2 separate regions of the Homo sapiens genome follow, and region 2 is linked to region 1. The links are contacts of gene promoters, found by promoter capture Hi-C in blood cells and fetal thymus (Javierre and others, 2016). All regions are on one chromosome and are shown on one strand. Each heading gives the region's core, a stretch centred on a gene start or on the middle of the fragment in contact. The rest is flanking DNA. Distances are from core to core; before and after follow the strand shown.

Region 1 (4,588 bases), core at 1,102-3,601:
CTTACTCTACAATCCCAAATAGACTCTTTGGCAGCAGTGACTCTCTAAAACCACTGAGGCCTAACCTCCTCACTGCTGAGAAAGGAGGACTTTGCACCTTCTTAGGGGACGAGTGTTGCTTTTACACTAACCAGTCAGGGTTAATATGAGACGCCACCCGGCATTTACAGGAAAAGTCTTCTGAAATCAGACAATGCCTTTCAAATTCTTATACCATTCTCTGGAGTTGGGCAACATGGCTTCTCCCCTTTCTAGGTCTCATGACAACCATCTTGCTATTACTTGCCTTCGGGCCCTGTATTTTTAAGCTCTTTGTCAATTTGTTTCCTCCAGGATCGAGGCCATCAAGCTACAGATGGTTTTGCAAATTAAACCCCAAATGAGCTCAACTAACAACTTCTACCAAGGACCCCCTGGATCGACCCACTGGCCCTTTGATACCTAGAGAGTTTCCCTCTGGAGGATACTACAATTCAGGGTCTCTTCTTCACCCCTATCCAGCAGGAAGTAGCTAGAGCAGTCATTGCGCAATTCTCAAAAGCAGTTGGGGTGTCCTGTTTAAAGGGGGTATTGAGAGGTGAAGCCAGCTGGACTTCCTGGGTCGAGTAGAGACTTGGAGAACTTTTCTGTCTTACAAGAGGATTGTAAAATGCACCAATCAGTGCTCTGTAGCTAGCAAGAAGTTTGTAAAATGCACCAATCAGTTCTCTGTAAAATGGACCAATCAGTGCTCTGTAAAATGGACCAATCAGCGCTCTGTAAAATGGATCAATCAGCAGGATTCTAAAAGTAACCAATCGTGGGGAGAATTGAGAAAAGGGCATTCTGATAAGACAGAAACAGGACATGGGAGGGGACAAATAAGAGAAAGCTGGCCACCCCAGCCAGCGGCAGCAACTGGCTCGGGTCCCCTTCCACTCTGTGGAAGCTTTGTTCTTTCGCTCTTCACAATAAATCTTGCTGCTGCTCACTCTTTGGGTCTGTGCCATCTTTTAAGAACTGTAACACTCACCACAAAGGTCCGCAGCTCCATTCTTGAAGTCAGGGAGACCAGGAACCCACCGGAAGGAACTAACTCTGGACACAATATTTTTTTTTCTTTTTTTAAATTTTTTTCTTTATTTCTTCTAAAAAAAAGTGGGATGCATGTGCAGAACGTGCAGGTTTGTTGCATAGGTACACGTGTGCCATGGTGATTTGCTGCACCTATTGACCTGTTCTCCTCTAAGTTCCCTCTCCTCACCCCCTACCCTACAACAGGCCCTACAACATTCCCCTCTCTGTGTCCATGTGTTCTCATTGTTCAACTCCCACTTATGAGTGAGAACATGCAGTGTTTGGTTTTCTGTTCCTGTGTTAGTTTGCTGAGGATGATGGCTTCCAGCTTCATCCATGTCCCTGCAAAGGACATGATCTTATTTCTTTTTATGGCTGCATAATATTCCATGATATTTTTCAAAAGAAAATATTTGCTGCCAACAGAAGATTTTATATTAAAATCTGTATTTGCAGCTTTTACTGAAAAGAACCTAAGGCCTTGCCATATTGGGCTCATTTTCTCAAATAGCAACATTTAGCTGAACTGAATAGACAGAGAAAGTACTTTCCAGTCAGATCATATCTGGCCCACTTTCCTCGTGTATGTTACCCTCCTCACTCCTGTAGGCATTTGCATGTGTAGTCACAAGCAAATGTGGTTTAGAAATTGTTCAGTGAACCATGTTGGAAAATGTCCCTAAACACAAGTCCTAAAGATGGTCTGTTATATTATCTTACAAGCACACAGTGGAAGGAAAAACAGTTAAGTTTTCTATTTCTGCCACAGCTTCTATAATTATTACCTTTCTTGTGCCCTAGGTTAATATCTAAAAATAGCTTTATGCTTTCTCAAACACATTTCACCAGCTCCCTCTGCTGATCCAATCTGAAGGACAAAACAGCTTAAATTCCTTGTAAGTCCTGAACTTTAAAATCACATTTCTGGGGTTGGAGAACTCCAAGCATGAAAGAACTTGATGAGGTAATGGTCATCTAAATAACTTTCTCCTTTGGACAGCTCCTATGGTAATCCAAGCAAGAGTCAGGGTGTAGAAGTTTGTTTCCAAAAGTAGAACTCCTGTTTCGCTGAGAAAGCTGTAATTTGGGGTGATTTGGCGCCCTCTACAGACTATAATGGCAAAAGCGACGCTATCATGTGCTTCCCATAGCTTTAGGGCTTTGCCAGAACTATGACGTTGAGGAGGGTGGGGTAAAGGGGCAGGAAGCGTTTATGTTCTGCCAATCCAACAGCTGTATTCTAACTCACCATTCCGCCCTCCCTTAAGATCACGGAAGTATCACGCTTGCCTCTTACACAACTTTTTTTCCTTAGTCTGTATACTTTCTGCTGTCACTAGCATAACAGAAAAGACGAATGGCTTTTGTTTTAAACTGAGGGCACTTTTACAAAAGTCATCTTTCCATTTATTTTTCTTTCAGAAAAAAGAATTTGGGTTTTGAGCTTTTTTAAAAAAAAAAGACAAACACTTTCCTTGACTTTGAGAAATAATTTAAGTCAAAGAATCTGCTCTATGCTAACCAAGGTAAGTGTCCTGGATTTTTTTTTTAATGGGGAAATGATCCAGAAACTGCTTTCACAAAAGATGAATGTTTTTCTTGGAGTGTGTTCCTTAAGAATGAATGTGATTATCTTCTTTTGGGGTCTCTTGACTAGGGCTAAAGCAAGAGAATTAAGGAGAGAGTCAGGAAGCAAAGGGAAGTTGTAAGGAAACAAAGTTATGTTGTGGACAGAACCATCCAAAAGGAAAGTGTCAGTGAGATAAACAGAATCATGAGACTTTCAGTGACTCCAGTGACCTCTGATTTCATCTTATGAATGAGATGGAAATGCCAGCCATTGGGAAACAAATACCCCATAGATGGCGTGGGAAAAAAATACTGTAACAAAGCAAGAGCATGGTAGGATGATGATAAGAAACATAAAATGATCAAATTTCAAATTCAAAGAAATCATAATTGATTACATGATTTGCAAATCACCCAAGTCTCTCCATGTCTCATAAAGGATTCCTACATTTGCTGGTCAGTCAGGTATAGGGTGGGGTTTTCCCGTTGTACAAAGGTCTAGTTCAATAGGTCAGGTCTCCTTTCTGCCAAGGGACTAAATATAAGCAACCTATGGCTGGCACGGTGGCTCACGCCTGTAATCCCAGCACTTTGGAAAGCCGAGGAGGGCAGACCACTTGAGATCAGGAGTTTGAGACCAGCCTGACCAACATGGTGAAACCCCGTCTCTACTAAAAATACAAAAATTATCCAGGCGTGGTGCCGCCTGCCTGTAGTCTCAGCTACTCAGGAGGCTGAGGCAGGAGAATCACTTGAACCCAGGAGGTGGAGGTTGCAGTGAGCCGAAATTGTGCCACTGCATTCCAGCCTGGAAGACAGAGTGAGACTCCAACTCAAATAAATAAATAAATAAATATAAGCACCTTTGAGCAACCAAGTACCTTATGAAGTCCACTTTATAGTTTGCAGAGTTTGCACACACGTTCTCCCAATCCTTCAAGCCTGCAGTATTCTCGCCTACCTTTGAATTCATATCTTTTTTTTTTTGTGCACCAATTACTTGGTTTTCAGACATAAGAACAGTCCTTTCAAGCTTGAAGGAAACAAAGAGAAAGCCACTTGAACCCTCTGTTTTACAAATGTGGAAGCACTGGCTCAGAGAAATTGAGAATTGTGTCCAGGGTTACAAGCTGCTTAGAGGCAGAAGCAGAACTAGAACTCAGATCTCTCAATTTCCAGTTCACTCACTACCTTCCTCTACTGACTCAAGGCAAAATTTAAAAAGGTTGCTCCCATTCAGAAATTTATAGTCTGTAAATACGGATTAATTTTAAAAGGTGCTAATTCCCAATTTGTTTCTACTGCCTGTAGAGTCTCTAAGTCAGTCCTTAAAGTGCTTTTGCCCAGCACGTTTTTAACCCCACAGGCCACTCTGTGTCACTAACTAGGTCTCTAGACAGGGATAATAAACAGGCCAGGAGAGTGCAAGCATTCATGCCTAGAGCATGCTGCTACCATAGGACTTAGCACAAGGTAGTATCAGCCTCTCCATATACAACATCTTAAGAGCAGTCACGGTCTTTTTTAAATTCTAAGACTTTACTACTATTTCTTAGTTGCAGGGTCTTCATTATCTTCAGGGCCCCATACTTAGCTTAGGACCTGCACTTAGAGGTACCCAGGGCATATTTGTTGAATGAATTAATTTGCTTCCAGTCTATTCACGTCAGTATATTTTTCACTTTGGCAATTCAGTTAGCAGTCATTTCTTTTTACCTTATGATTGCAGAGATAGAGCACAGCAAAGATCTGCCAGCCCCAGGCCTCTACCTAGTGGCCTGGAAATTCAAGTATTCTTATTGGTGGAGGCCATTTGTTTCTGATTAGAAGCTGTCTAAACCTCCTACTCCTCAACTCAAAGGAAAACACAGGTATGTCTGCCTACTCCTTTCCAAACTTGTTGATACATTTTATCTGTATGAACTGTCTTTTCCAAGGAGAAGAGAAGGAAGACAGGAGACAA
Region 2 (4,372 bases), core at 1,822-4,321, 340 kb before region 1:
CCCAGCACAGGAAAACTTAAATAAGTTACTGAATACAATGTAAATGCTATGAGCTCAAAAGTGCAAAAATTAAAGTGCAGAGAATAGTTTAGTGGTTCTCCAACAAGTTACACATAGAATTGCTATTTGACACAGAAATCTTAGGTATATACCTAAAAGAATTTAACAGTTTCTCAAACAAAAACTTGTACAAAGTGTTCATTGCAGCAAAATTCACAGTAGCTGAAAAGTGCAATCTAAATGTCCATCAACAGATAAATGAACAAATAAAATCTAACACACACATATGGCATATTATCCACTCAAAAAAAGGAATCAAGTTGTATACATGCTACAACATGCATAAACCTTGAAAACATTATACTAAGTGAAAGAAGCCAGGCACAAAAGGCTACATTTTGTATGATTCTACTTATGTTCCTATTCTGTTATGTTTTATCCTGTTACATTCCTATTCTGTTATTCTGTTCTATGAAACAAGAAATAAAAGTATTAATATATTAGTAAAACACAAAAGTAGAAGAATTAAAAATAATATACTATGATGAGTAATGTTCTCTATTGAGAGAATTGTGGCGAAGTGGAAGAATGGAATTGAGATAGACAATGTCTCAAACTGATGTTAGAAGCAAAGGTGCATTGTTTATAGAAACAGGGGAGACTTCCAGAAGAAGCAGCTGAAAACCATAGAAGTGGTTGCTTCTGGAACCTAGCACTTAACACTATCATTACTGTTAAGATAAGGGACTGGAGAGGCCAGATCTACAAAGAAAGGGCACAGTTAAAAGGGCCAGAAAACTAAGCAGGAATACTTAGGTTTAGGAGTGAATACCGAGAAGCTACTTTTCTCCAGTTTTTAAATATCTGCTTCTTTTTAGTACTTGGGTAGATTTTCTATAAAGGCAGGATATATCATACCGAAAGCTCTCAAAGTCTCATCTTAGAGGAGGGGTAACTGTGGTTGTCACGCTTCTGAAGGGGCTTGGCAGGATATACATCAGTGTGCTCCACGATCCACGCTGCCTTACTCCTCTCTCAGCCTACCTTGGGTCATGTCCCACTTCCTAAACATGCCTTTTTAGTTGGTGACAGTAAGTGGATATGCAGTCTAGGCACGACCACACATACTCTGCTAGAGACATACACCTAGATAGATCCTAACTGGCAAACAGAACAGAAGGAAACCACTAGGAGCTTCATTTACAAAAACATCTACTAAGAACTACACATCTAACAAGCTCCTGAGCAGGGATAATCAGAGAGGACATTTGAGGCAAAACCTGTAATATAAGATGACTGTAAGGCCAATCCCCTGTAAGTGGTGCTCAGCTTCAGTGAGGTAAGCTGTGAGAAGTACTACTCTTCTCTCATACCCAGTAGAGAGAGAAAACTTGATCCTTTTTCTCATGCCCATACACAATGATGGTTTTAAGATCTTGCCATCGAGTGGGAAAAAAAAAAAACTTGGAATGCAAACCCAAAGAAAAGGACATTCAGGCAAAGAGAGCATTTCCCCCTAGGGCCTAGAGCAGAGGCTGTCTGCTCCCAGATTCTCCAAAGCCACAGAGCTCCTATAAGGGGAAGGACCAGGCCACTCTTTGTACGGGTGGAAAAGAATGCAAGGAGAATATCCATGGAAAAAAAGAGATTTATAATCTCTCTTCTCCTACTGAGATCATCACTCCCCACATCACAATTCAATTATGGCCTTCGCCCATGACCTAGATGACCCAGGTCACTTCATATTTCTTCCTTAGGAATTTCTGTGTGTGTGTGTGTGTGTGTGTGTGTGTGAGAGAGAGAGAGAGAGAGAGAGAGAGAGAGAGAGAGACAGAGTGGGCAGGGAGTGGTGAGTTAAGCCACATAAAGGGCAGGGAAAATGGGGCATGAAAAAGGTCAACAGAAGCAGAAGCAGGCCTTGGGATCCCCCTAGAGTTTACCATCAACAATTGCTCCAATCATCAAAGCCTCTACCTAGGAAAAGTACTCACTTGTCTTGGAGGCAAGAACTATCTGCAAGTCATGCTGCTAGTTTGCCAAATCTACATTTAATCAGAGCCCTTCTTTGTCTAAAAAAAGACATGCAAAATTGGTAAAGGCCCTCATACTTTCATAAAAGCAAATGCCTTTTCTACCTTTCCTCTTTTCTCTCTCTACTCCCTTCTCTGTTTGGATATTATCTAGCCAGAGAGGTCCATTAAGGTGAAAATCTAAATATTTGATCAGTCTAAGGGTTGAAGAAGTTGTAGAAAGAAATACAGAAATATTTTGGTAGTAGCTTTGACATCAAAAGCAAATGATCTGCATTTTAAAAAAATGAATTCCCTTGAGAGGAGTCAGAATAACTTCCAGAGGAAAAGTGGCATGCCTCCTCAGTGACTTGTAGAAACATCTAGTGTTTCGTATGTGAAGAAGGAAGTACTAAAGGTTTTGGAAATACACAGCCCACCTTACTTTTCTATGTCCTGGGAATTTGCTACCTGCAAGTGACTACCCACTTCATGGCATAGAAACTAACATTAGTTGAGTCACCATTATGTCCAAGTACTTTCCTAGGAATTTTTCTTCTTGTCATCAGTGTTACCCCTTACTCTCCACAATAACTGTTACAAAGTGGAATTTATTGTCTTCATTTCACAGATGAGGAAATTGAGAGTCAGTAACGGGGCCAGGATTTGATTACAGATATTGTAAACTCTGAAGCTTATCTTAGAATCCTAGTCTGATTTATAACAGGATCAGATGCATGCAGACATTTTCATATTGGCTATGCATAGCAAATGCATGTTCTCCTTTGTTTCTCCATTAGATAAGTGTTGATGCTCCATGTTTGGGTCTCCTGGCAGCAGAGCTGTCTCTTTTGTGTTCCCATGAAGATCCCTCGATTGTAAAACAAGCATCATTGGGAATGTGTCACCTCCTCTACATTGCACGGTGTCAGAACGGTAAGAACAGTTCACCATCTTTTCTCAGGATTACTAAGAATATGTCCCTCGTTATTCAACTTATAGGTCCTGGGAAGGCTCTACGTCTGTTAATTTCTAAATCCTGCCCCAAGAGTCATGGCTATACTTTCTAAAATGTGTCTTTTAATCTTTTTAGCATTGTCAAGAAATTTTGGTAATAGTGTGGTTGGTTCTTCAAGATTTATAAAGTACTGTGCTTAGATTACTTGAGGGTTAATGGTAGGGAGAGGAATGCTGGGTGGATCCAGGGAGGACAGAGAAGGAGAGAGTTTACCAATGGGACTTTAAAAATGCGGTATTTTTTTCTGTCTAATTGAGTATCTGATAGACTACTCAGAAGATTCTTGCTTCAATGGTGGAGAAAAATAAGACTAGGATTAAAATAAATGTTGCTGTGGCTTGTCTAACAAAGCATAAAAGCAAGACCTGAAAGTATTAAGCTATTTCCAAGTAATTTAATTGCATTTTAGAACAAAGCTTAAGAATATTTGTATATTTGTAAGGGGTGGAGCCTCTGTCTATGGAGGCTATGCCTCTGTTTCTGTCCAGGATGTAATAACAGAGAACACATTTACTCTATTTACACTCCTATAGTAAGCAACCTTAAAAATATACATAGTTTTTGGCAAGGCACAGTGGCTCACGCCTATAATCCCAGCACTTTGGGAGGCTGAGGTGGGCGGATCACAAGGTCAGGAGATCGAGACCATCCTGGCTAACACAGTGAAACCCCCTCTCTACTAAAAAATACAAAAAAATAAGCCGGGTGTGGTGGCAGGCACCTGTAATCCCAGCTACTCAGGAGGCTGAGGTAGGAGAATGGCGTGAACCCAGGAGGCAGAGCTTACAGTGAGCCGAGATCATGCCACTGCACTCCAGCGTGGGTGACAGAGCAAGACTCCGCCTCAAAAAAAAAAAAAAAAATACACACACACACACACACACACACACACACAGAGTTTTCAATTCATTGCACATTAAATAATAAAGGACAATGACTCTTGAAAGATGAGGAGGTGAGAACGAATGAGGTGGGGTTTGTAATTGCCTGAGCTTACCACCTAGAGTACATTTCTAAGAGCCAACACAAAAAGAGATAAGCCAGTGGTCTCATCAAGTTAAAAAGACAGAAATGGGAGTCCAGAGAGGTCAATAGCTAGGGTTGAAAGGCCAGGGTACCAGAACGGAGTACATGAGTGCATGCACACGCATACACACACACACACACGCACGCACAAACCCACAAACTCGAGATCTGCAGAGATCTAAAGAGAGCCCCCTTTAAGTATTTAGCTGAGTACTAATGAGAACATGCATGCAAGTAAACTGCCTGAGTTTGAAGGGTAGGAAACAACAAAAATGATTAGAGAAAAAGATTCAGTGCTCAACAAAGGCTAGTGATAATG

What was found. Contacts are between HindIII fragments. The CHiCAGO score rates a contact against its expected background, and 5 or more counts as called.
Region 2: a fragment that was not itself captured here is called in contact with the fragment with the promoter of FMO4 in region 1 in 6 of 17 cell types (naive B cells, total B cells, naive CD4 T cells and 3 more); the score reaches 9.8 in naive B cells.

What each region holds. Positions count from the first base shown.
Region 1 is chr1:171,311,832-171,316,419 of GRCh38, forward strand. FMO4 (flavin containing dimethylaniline monoxygenase 4) reads left to right here and starts at 2,352. Exons shown (of 10, transcript NM_002022.3): 1 at 2,352-2,582; 2 at 4,355-4,496. The HindIII fragment of the contact is 2,730 bases long and covers 927-3,656 here.
Region 2 is chr1:170,968,939-170,973,310 of GRCh38, forward strand. It overlaps MROH9 (maestro heat like repeat family member 9), which reads left to right. Exons shown (of 22, transcript NM_001163629.2): 8 at 2,810-2,945. Among named protein-coding and RNA genes, the nearest start is that of MROH9, 36 kb to the left of the region's middle. The HindIII fragment of the contact is 740 bases long and covers 2,702-3,441 here.